Linked DNA regions of Homo sapiens: region 2 is linked to region 1. The links are contacts of gene promoters, found by promoter capture Hi-C in blood cells and fetal thymus (Javierre and others, 2016). All regions are on one chromosome and are shown on one strand. The core of a region is centred on a gene start or on the middle of the fragment in contact, and the rest is flanking DNA. Distances in the headings are between cores, read along the strand shown. Region 1 holds the start of CYB5R4 (cytochrome b5 reductase 4). Region 2 holds the start of HMGN3-AS1 (HMGN3 antisense RNA 1).

Region 1 (5,206 bases), core at 529-3,028:
TTTTAAATTATAGATATTTTAAATAAATGATGAGCAAAGTAACTCATATTTTAATACTCCTCTTCAGTCCTTAAATCCAGTAGTAAAATAGTATGGATGTTTAATACTTAATGTACTACATTGAGGGATCCCTAGAATTAAAACAAAACGTTTAAATTTGAGTGATTGATATGGAGTCTAAAAAAGTGGAGTCTAAAGGCCAGAAGTTGATAGCATCTTCCATTTCTGTACAAAGGGGAGCTAAGAAATTTGGAAAGCATGGAACATTCTTCAACAATATTAACTTTTCCTTGCTCTGGTTCTCTGCTTTTGATATTCTTATGTAAAAGTTTTCTCACGAGAAGTGAAATAAATCTCAGTGATTAGTTTTTCTTGTGTAGACTCTAGAAGAATATGTCATCATTTAATGAGAGAGAACACAGAAGCAATTTGCAAAGTCAAAGTAATACAGTTAATTATAGTCATGAGGTTCTTTTAGCTCAAATTCAGTCTTCTCATAATAAGCATTTCAATTGCAAATAAAAATGGATAGAGGTGAATGTCATAGGTGGCTACCTTATTTGAATGCTTGTATTTGAATGGCCACATATAGTCACACACTTTTTCTTCTGATTCTGCAAACATAACCTTGATTTTTTAGGCACTTTAAGAACTAAGTAGTTAAACAGAGAAAGTTTAAAGCATGACAATATGTTCAGAGTTAGGAAAAATTAGTAATTAAAGGAGGATGGGGAGGATTATTTAGAACTATGTTTCTTCTCCTGAAAACTTTCTCCCTTATTGGATTCTACTCTCAAGATCTATGTGTTCCCCAAGGGACACACAAAACAATCAATCAAACAAACAAAAACCATCAGATTTTGAGCATTAGAGCCTGGTGTTTACCTGCACAGTGTTGGTCCTTTTCCCATTAATATGTTGGAATAGCACAAACAGCCACTGCCACTTATTCAGTACCTAATATTAATCAGGCACTGCAGTATGTAGTTTACACATGATCCTTTAATCTTTAATAAACCCATTATGCAGATGGGGAAAATGAGACTTTGAGATACTAAAGTAACTTGCATAAGACAGCTCAGTCATTAAGTGCAGGGATGGCATGCAAACCAAATCTGACTTTTAAACGTTACTTCATCACCACAGCTGGAGGTGAGCTGCATCAGTACACAATTCCCAGTGAAGACAGGAAGTTACATAAGGAGGGAGAATTTGTGAGTGGGTGAATAGAGCAGAAGGTGACTTTACTAACGTCTTTCGCGCATTCATTAGCCCTCAGCATGCTTAAAGGTGAAGTTTAAGGATGATTAAAGGTGAGGTTTTCTTCTTACCCCACAGTAGTGGCTGTTGACATTTGATATTTTTGCTCTTAAAGGTGTGAGATGCTCTTTGCATTACAGCCTAGTGCCTTACAGGAAAGAATTTCAGAGAAACTAAAATTCGTTTTAGTCCATATTTCAAGTAGTGTGTTTTAGTCCATATTTCAAGTAGTGTGATGGTACTGCTTAACAATGAACAGACATTGCTGTTCCGGGTTAACAGGACTAAGAATTTGTTCCCACATTCGGTCAGCACCAAGGCTAAGGAACAGCTTCACTCTCTAATCTTTCCACGAAATAGCTGTCACCTTGCTCCGGTGCTGAAGTTCGGGATGCGGAACTAGCTGAGCATGCGTACTTCCTCCCTGCCGGCCCTCCCTCCGTCCCGTTGGCTCCGCCCTCCGCGGACGTGCTGCGTCAGAATGCGCCTCACCCCTGGCGACCCCGGAAGTGGGTCGGGGGCTTGGCCTCTGCCCGGCCACAGAGCCGGAGCTGGAGGTGCTGTCCCGTCTGGCGGCGATCCCCGGGCAGGGCCCGGGGCCGGGGTTTGAAGATGCTGAACGTCCCTTCCCAGTCTTTCCCGGCCCCCAGGTCGCAGCAGCGTGTCGCCTCCGGGGGGCGTAGCAAGGTAAGCGGGTGGCTCCGTGAGTCTCTCCCCTCGCTGCGTTTCGAGCTCTGGCAGTGTGTTCTCTTCTTCCGCCCCAACTCCCAGCTCCTGCACCCCTCTCTAAGCTGTCGTTCCCTGCTGTCCTTGCCTGCAACCTCTTTCTGATCCCACTTTGTCTACAGTCCCTAAACTCTCCTTACCTCCTCCCTTTCCCCTAGCAGTCCCTCTTCTTTCTGGTCCTTTATCCCGCTCTATCCGTTCCCTTCCTCCAAGTCCTTTCCCGCGATTTAAATTTATATGACAGAGCCAGGCACTGTGTTTGCGGTATTATAGGCTCTCGGTATTAGCCGCCTTCCCTCAACCTCATCTTCTCCCTGGTCTTTTGTTCTTCACTGCCTGAAGGAGTTGTACCACATCACTCGATGTGGGTTCCCTCGCAGGAGGGAAAGGCTTGGCAGTGGCGACAGTGACCGTCCGTGCAAGGATGGGGACTTCTGGAGTTGGGGAGCTAGGTCAGGTTTACAGACACTATCCAAGACATACTGCCTTTCTTTCTTCCTCTGGTACCTGATTGTTTTGTCATTGCCTTTTCTACTAGTATCACTTGCTAACTTCGAAGCAAATATAATAATACTCTTGAGTTCTTGTTGAGCACAGTTGCTGTTAGCAACAGGTGGAATACTGTACAGATATATTTTATATTTGCAGAATTCAATAAAAATTGTGTTCTTTGTTCTTTTGCGAATGTTGTTTGTTCCTATTTGTTAGTTCCTCATTCTGTAACCATATCTTTATCTTTCGTTTGTGACACTTCCACTTAACTTGGGCCACTCGGTTAACTCTTGAGTCTTAGCATCGTTTGGAACCCTTATCGATTTTCTTATTTTTCTCCACTTAGACCTGGCGTTCTGATTCTAGTTCAGAATGAATATAGGTTCAGGGATCTGTGGTTTTCATTAGCTTTCCAGAGATTTCTTAAGTACTTACGGGTGGCCGTGTATATTCTCAGTGCTTTGCATGTATTAACTTTAATTTTCACAATTATCCTTTGAAGTGAAAGCTTTTATTGTCTCTATTTCGCAGAAAAGGAAACTGGCTAAGAAATATTGCCCTAAATTGCGTAGGCTTGTGTTGTGGTTCTGCTGTGAAATTTCATTTACTGATTCATATATCAATCATCTAGCCATCCAATCATGTATATTTTTCTCATTGGTTTTTGACCTATTTCTTGAAGCTAAATACTTGACTGAATAACAGTCTTTCCAGAAAGAATCTCTGAATTAGAATATGAGTTACTGCCCTTCTTCGTTAAAAATACCAACTGTGTTCTTAGCATCCATTTAAAGGAGAAAACTTAGAAGCAAAGACAAAAAGTCACACAGGGGGCGATGGCAAAGGTGAGTTTTTGGTCCAAAAAGAGAACAAAATAAGATTATTGTGCAATTCTAAGGAAAAGTCAGACTCCAGTCTTCTTCCTCTTTTCTTTGTGAAACAAGATGATGCTGAGAATGTAAAAACTGAGTCAGGTTTGGATGAAATGGGTAGAGGTTGAGAAAATAGAACCAAGTTGGGAAGGTCGTGTATTATACAAAAGGTTCTCAAATAGTGTTGTTTCATTCAACAGCATTTAGTTATAATATTGATGAGAAAAAAAATTCGTTTTGGCCAGGGCCACTGTCTTTGGAGTTTGCATGCTCTGTGTCTGCGTGGGTTTTCTCTGGGTACTCTGGTTTCCTGCTACAGCCCAAAGATATGCAAGTTAGGTTAATTGGTGTGTCTAAATGGTCCCAGTCTGTGTGAATATTGGGTGTGTATGAGTGTGCCTTGCCATAGGATGGCATCCTGTCCAAGGTCGGTTCCTGCCTTGTGCCCTGAGCTACTGGGATAGGCTCTGACTACCTGTGACATTGAACTGGAATAGTTGGGTAAATAATTATCTTACTTGTTTTTTAATTAATCTTTCTTAAATGTATATATAGCTAACATTTCTTTCAGTGTTTAATATTAGAAGTATTTTGGTCTTTATTTAGAAGTCTGGTGATGTTTTTGTGACCAGAAATATGCTGCAGGAAATTTTGTTTGTCAATTAACCCACGGTAAAATTAGTTTCGTTGTACATAGTTTAGTTTCCAAGCACCTAGTGACTAGCTTAAGTGAAGGCTTATTGTAATTTTTTAAAGGCACAGATTTTGAAGTGAGAAAGACCTAGATTCTTTCACCATATCTGCCAGTTAATCTCTTTGAGTCTGTTTCCTCAGATGTAAATGAGAATAACAGTACCCATTTTATAGGATTGTTCATAGGATTCAATGAGATAATGTTTCTCTTAGCACAGCCTTGGTAAGCACCCAGTAAATGCTACTTGTCCTGAGGCTTTTATTCAGATCTCACAGACTTGAGTGTGACACAGAATATGCACTCAACATATGATAGTTATTATTTCTATTAATACTGGTAAACAAATACTTATTGAGAACCTACCATATGCTGGAGTTTTTGGTCTCTGATTTCAAGGTGTTTAGTCTCATAGGTTGCATGAAATAGTGAACATTCAGTTATAAAGTCATAAGTACTACAACAGGGTGGTATGACCACTAAGGAGTTGAGGATCAGAGAAGCCTTCCAGAGGAATTAATGGGAGTTGGAGTGAGGTTGATCCATGCAGGGAAAGCAACACTACTATAAGCAAGTACTTGACAGCAATAAAGGAATCAAATAATCAGTTCCCATTTGGCTAAAGTATATAATGGAAAGGAGCAAAAGTTAGAACATGGAGCTAGTACAGTCAACTGTGACCAGATTGTGAAGACCTGGTAAATCCCTAGGGAATTTAGAGACGTTGTTGTAAGGTGACCTGAGGAGCCACTGAAGGAGGGAGAGCCTGTGATTAGATTTGCATTTCTGAAAGATTGCTTTAACTATCCTGTGGATTATGGAATGGAGAGAGGTGAGTGATTTTAGTTTGGGATGGGAAAGGTCATTTTCTCACACTTCATTTATTGGGATCAAGAGACCTAGAGTTTCAGTGATAGCCAGAATGGAATGATGTAGATTGATAGGATAGAATGTGAAAGGCACCACAGACCTATTAACTTGGTTACTTTGGGAGTAAATGGATGTCTAAAATAGATATGATTCAGGAAAGTGAGATATGTAAACATCCTTGAATGTGTCTGCTTTTACATTAAACATTCTTCTGTTACTACGTTACAAATTAGTCAGACAAGCTTAGTTCCATAGAGATATCTTGAAAATGTTCTGGTCAAAGTACTAATAATAC
Region 2 (5,206 bases), core at 1,336-3,835, 4.6 Mb before region 1:
AAATTGCCTCATTAGAGAATTTCTGATGTGATACACTAGACATTTAAAATAGTTCTAGTGATAAGGAACTGGAAAATATTAATAAAAAGAAAGAGGTAAAAATGTGTTTCCTGTCGCTAATCATGCCAGGACTGTGACTCTAGGCCTCGCTGGCTCATGTCTCTTCGTAGAACATCAAATCATCACATAACAACATGACCACTGCGGGCATTTGTGGATGTCTGGCCAGAACAGTCTAGAACTCAATCACTCATTGTCTCACCACTGAGTCCATGAATGTTATCATTTCCCCTGTAATTCCACTCACCCACCATCCATTATCTAAAAAATACAGGAAACTCACTTTTATTTACATCTCACAAACTTAGAGATAATATGCACTGAAGAACTCTTCACTAAGTGCTGTATTACTTCACAAAATACTATGGCATTTATAAAAAACCACTTGGCTTAATGTAGTTATGACTATCACACACAAAGATACACATAAAACTTACAAAGAAATGTCATCAGAACATTTTAATATTAATTCAGATGATATTATAGCCCTGAAGTTGCAAAACTGAGGCCTGGTCATGTTAAGATACAATCAGGAGACACACTTGAATACCTGGTAACAAAAAATGACTCTGACTTCTTTGTATATTTGAGTCCTACCCACACTTTTAAGACCAGCCTAAAGTTAACTTTCCTTATCTGTCCTACTGCTTGTGGGATCTATAACTACACATTCTGGAACACATACACAGTTTTAATGTTATTCAACTGTTTTGTGCTGCTAGTCTTATCACCTCATTGAATTAAACACAAGTTCCAAGAGGGCAAAAACTGTATGTCCCTACAGCATTACAACAGGGCTAGGATTCCAGATGTTTTCATTGACTTTATCTGTACCACTTCTTGCTCTGCAGAACAACTTACTCAGATGTTCATTAAATAACATTTCTTGATTTCTAGGAAAGGTTGATACAGGGGGCTAAGAAGGCAAAAAAGTACTAGGGGGACATTTTAAAAGCTTATTATATTGTAGAGCAGACAATTCTTTAGTCAAGAAAAATATTGTGTAGTATGTAAATGCTTTGGCAGTTACCCCAGCTTTGAAGATCTTGAAGAGCTATGCATGGATTGTCTCCAGTTCTTTTTTGTATCTAAGCAGGCTTTACCTAATGACAGTGGTTCCTCACATAAGTTCCAGTGAACTTCAGGATTCCATGAGGCTGCTCTAAGACTTGACTGATAGATGGATGGCCATGATCGCCGTGTTTAATCTGAGGTTGTTCCTGCCCAGGTACCAACTGAGGTCGTTAGGCTTCAGGTATAAATGGAAAGCCTTCCTATTAATCAAGGAGAGGTTTTCCATCACCGGAGAACACTCTGATGTCCTCAGGAATGACACACAGGTGCCTGTACACAGTTTTGCCCCTAGTCTCAGGACCATTGGCTAGCTTATGCATGGGGGTTCCCTGCCTTCCAGGGAAATAAAACTGTAGCTGTAATTTTACTGTTATTTTAGTTTTTTTTTTTTTTCCTTCCGTCTCCTTGAGAGAGGCAGACAGGGGAAGTAAGAATAATGGTTTCAGCAGCTCTGGCCCTTGAATAAACAGCAAGGAAGGGTTCCATCGTCAGGGTCCATTATACATAAAGTGTGCACACCTAACCTACTGTTTATGTAAACAATGGTTATAATTCCCAGGAAAAAAAGATGGCCTCCAGCTCACTTACTCTGTAACCCGTATCTTGATGATTAGTTCCTTTGTCTCTACTAGAATTTCCAATCCATCATTAACCCTCAGTCAAAATGCTGAAAATGGTGACATCACTTAATATCCTAATTCTAGTAAAACAGGGCTAGAAAATACCTTCATAAAATTAAGTTTAAATAATAAATCTCAAGTATTAGTGCTCTTAATATGCCATCTGTCTTCTTAAACTGGGAGTACCTTTGGATTTCCTTAATTCCTCTTGACCCACCCTTTCGTAAGTGAGTACGAAATGGGTGAGAATAAGACTTTGGCATCTATAGCATCTGATTAAATCTTTACTAGTAGTTATTGGTTGGTGAGATGCAGGACAATTTATGTCTTTAAGTCCCAGCTGAATGGGGGTAACACCGCTCAAGCTGTTTTCAGGATTAAATGAGATAATGCAAGTCAAATTCTGCACAGCGTGAGGGACACAGTATGTGCACAACAAACTCTAAGACTTTTAAACACTTTCAATTATTTTTAAAAAGTGGGGTAGGAGACAAGTTTCTACCCAATTTTTAGTAATAACATATAAGAAGGGGAAAGCTTTTGAATTTTTAAAACTTCAGTATTTTAAAATAATGCAGTCACTCTCACACACAAATTAGTCCATGGTCTTTGATAAAGCAAGACATTAGGTGTAATTTTGCTTCAAATTTAATACCCACACTCGTTGACACTGTTGGAAACACTGAGGCTGGCGGTGGGAGGGTGCAAAGCACTTGCTTAGGAACCAGCTGAGAAATCCTCACTGATTTCTCAGGGAGGAGGAAACCTTTCCCTTCCCTCCCCGGGACAAGTCGAAGCCCCACCCCGAGGGAGATTTGTGTCCCTGAATGTAGTAGTTGGTGTCCGGGGCCTGCGCAGAAGAGGACAGTCCGCAAGGGGCGGAAGACAAGACAAAAATGACTCCAGTTCGCTAGACGCGCAGAGGGGCGGATAGCGCGCGGACCCCGCCTTCCCCAACCGAGTGTGGGTTCCAGTCGCTGGGGAGGACCTGGTGGCCCCCTGACCTTGGACGAGCCATATTGGACGCCCCGGCGCCGTCCCGTCTTCCACGCTGCCAACTCCACCGCTCCCGCCCCGAACTGCGGGTAGGTCCAGGCCGCCAGGCCCCGCCTCGCCGGCCCCAGCCCTGATTGACACTGGAGTTGGTACATACGGGTCTGCAGCGGAGGCGAGCAGGAGGGTGAGCGCTATTTTAAACATGGCTTTCTCTTTCCCTTAGCCTAGGAGCCACCGCAGCGCACCCAGCCCGCGAGTACAGCCGCATGGGAATAATCCCAACATTTGCCTGATTTATTTTCTTCCCTCTCCTTACGCTTGTACTTGTTTTTCTCCTCTCGCTGTTTTCCCTTCACACTAATTCGCAACCTGGCAGTTTGCAAAGAGGAAACTCCCTTTCGGAATGGAAAGCCGCTTTTGCTTCTTGTTGTTGGGGGTGGAAAACATTCCAGCGAGAATGAGTTCAAAAAGAAGGGAAACCGCGTCACTGGAGAGAAAGTAACATTAAGAGATCGATGAGGACGGAGTGGGTAGGGGGGACAGAGAGAGGAACGTCTGCAACAGGCATCTAAAAACAAGCGTGGAGGAGCAAAGATTCCCAATCCCCGGGTTACTACCGCGCGCGTTCTGCGCGAGCCATTGCAATGCCAGCATTTACTGTAAGCAGAATTTGAAGGCTTTTGAAATCTTTTTTTGGTAAGACTTACCTTTCTCTTCGGCATAATGACTATGTCGGTGAAGCAAAAAGTAAAGCAACGGACTGGAACTGCTGGCGCCGCCGCTGGATGCTGCCTCTGCCTCTGCAGCTGCTCACGCGCAGGGCACGACGTAGCCCGGCCTCTTCGACCTGCACCTCCGCGGCTCCCTCTGGGGGCCCTCTGCTCGCCTCCCTGCTGCTCCAATGAGGAGCCCCGCCAGCCGGCCGCGAGGCCCCATTGGCTGAGGCAACGTTCTAAATTCCACGAGGGCACGCCCACCTCCGCGCGCGGTACGCGCTGTTGTAGTTTCCACTTCACCGAAAAAAATCTGCCTGGCGACTGAGCATGCCCAGTTCAACTAGTAGCCTCCAGGCCACACAATCCTGAAGTTTCATTGTTTCGCTGCTCTCTCTTTGAGATTGTAAGAATAAGAACAGTGTGTGTCTTCATAGGAAGGAAAAAGAGTAAGAATGAATACGTAAACTTTATAATGTAAATATATACACAGCAGGTACCTTATTCATTTCCTACCCATAAAGGCTTTTAATGAATGTTACATGGTGGGAATCTGTAAAGCGTGGGAAGGTACTCTGTACTGGAAGAGCGTGGCAACTTCTAAAGGCCTCAGTTTCCCCCCCTAGATATATAGTGACAACAGTCCCTAAAATCACTTAGCTCTAATTTTCTGAAATCTGTGATTATAAATCACTCACTAATTCAGCTAACTTCAAACTAGATGTGAAGACGAATAGGACATGTTTGTTACGGAAATTAGGAAAAGAAAGAACAAGGCAAAAACTGATTATTTTATATTTGAGACATATATTTGAATGACACCCGTCATGTTACACTTTATGCGTAATATTTCTCAAAGTTCTGCAAGGCATAAAATGAGCATTGCAAAAATATTTCTGAATTCATTTTATGAGACCAGATTTACTCTGATACCAAAACCAGTGAAAGACTTCAAAAGAGAGTTACAGACCAATATCACTCATAAACATAGACACAAAAGTCGTGAACAAAATTTTAGTAAATGAAACTCAACAACATTTAAAGGGACAATACATCATGACCTGTGGGGCTTATCTTGGGAATGCAAAGCTGCTTTTTTAATATCTGAGAATCAATCAATGTAATTGGCAGGATTAATAGAATAAAGGGGGAAAAACAATCCTTTCAGCAGATGCAGGAAAAGCGCTAGTGAATGGGTAAGCAAATTGTGATGAGCACATGCAGTGGAATACTATTCAGCAATAAAAAACAATAAAAAATTTTCCTACATGGATGAATATCAAAAACAAAGTGCTGTACGAAAGAAGTCAAATACAAAAGACCACACTGAATGATTGCATTCATATGAAATTATAGAAAAAGCAAAATTGGGCAAAGTTAGTTTCAGAATCATCTTAGCAGGCAAAGCTCACATCATAGGAAAATGTGTTGAAGCCTTACATTACAAATATGGCCAAATCCACTTTGGTAACACAGAGGCTGCAAATATGTATTAAAAATATCATGTATTAAATATGTATTAAAAAAGCAATGAAGTTTAATATTTCACTTTTTCTTTAGTAATTTTCAGAATACATTAATTGATCTAGTACTCTCCAGAGGTGGTTGATTACTTTCTTTTTTGGAACATCTTTATGAACTCATGGATTTTTACATATTTGGTGTGCATCAGTGTATTGCTATCATTATTATTACCTTTTTAATGCTCCTATTACCACATCTTTAGCCAATGCATACCCTTTC

The links. Contacts are between HindIII fragments. The CHiCAGO score rates a contact against its expected background, and 5 or more counts as called.
Region 2: a contact is called between the fragment with the promoter of HMGN3-AS1 here and the fragment with the promoter of CYB5R4 in region 1, in 1 of 17 cell types (fetal thymus). The highest score is 7.8, in fetal thymus.

What each region holds. Positions count from the first base shown.
Region 1 is chr6:83,857,911-83,863,116 of GRCh38, forward strand. CYB5R4 (cytochrome b5 reductase 4) reads left to right here and starts at 1,779. Exons shown (of 16, transcript NM_016230.4): 1 at 1,779-1,947. The coding sequence starts at 1,873. All of the region lies in intron 3 of RIPPLY2-CYB5R4 (RIPPLY2-CYB5R4 readthrough), which reads left to right. RefSeq lists a silencer at 1,850-1,899. The HindIII fragment of the contact is 3,476 bases long and covers 1-2,984 here.
Region 2 is chr6:79,231,089-79,236,294 of GRCh38, forward strand. HMGN3-AS1 (HMGN3 antisense RNA 1) reads left to right here and starts at 2,586. Exons shown (of 2, transcript NR_040671.1): 1 at 2,586-2,839; 2 at 2,974-5,206. It overlaps HMGN3 (high mobility group nucleosomal binding domain 3), which reads right to left and starts at 3,594. Exons shown (of 7, transcript NM_001201363.2): 1 at 3,458-3,594. The coding sequence starts at 3,472. RefSeq lists enhancers at 2,132-2,922, 2,923-3,712 and a silencer at 2,870-2,919. The HindIII fragment of the contact is 3,424 bases long and covers 2,290-5,206 here.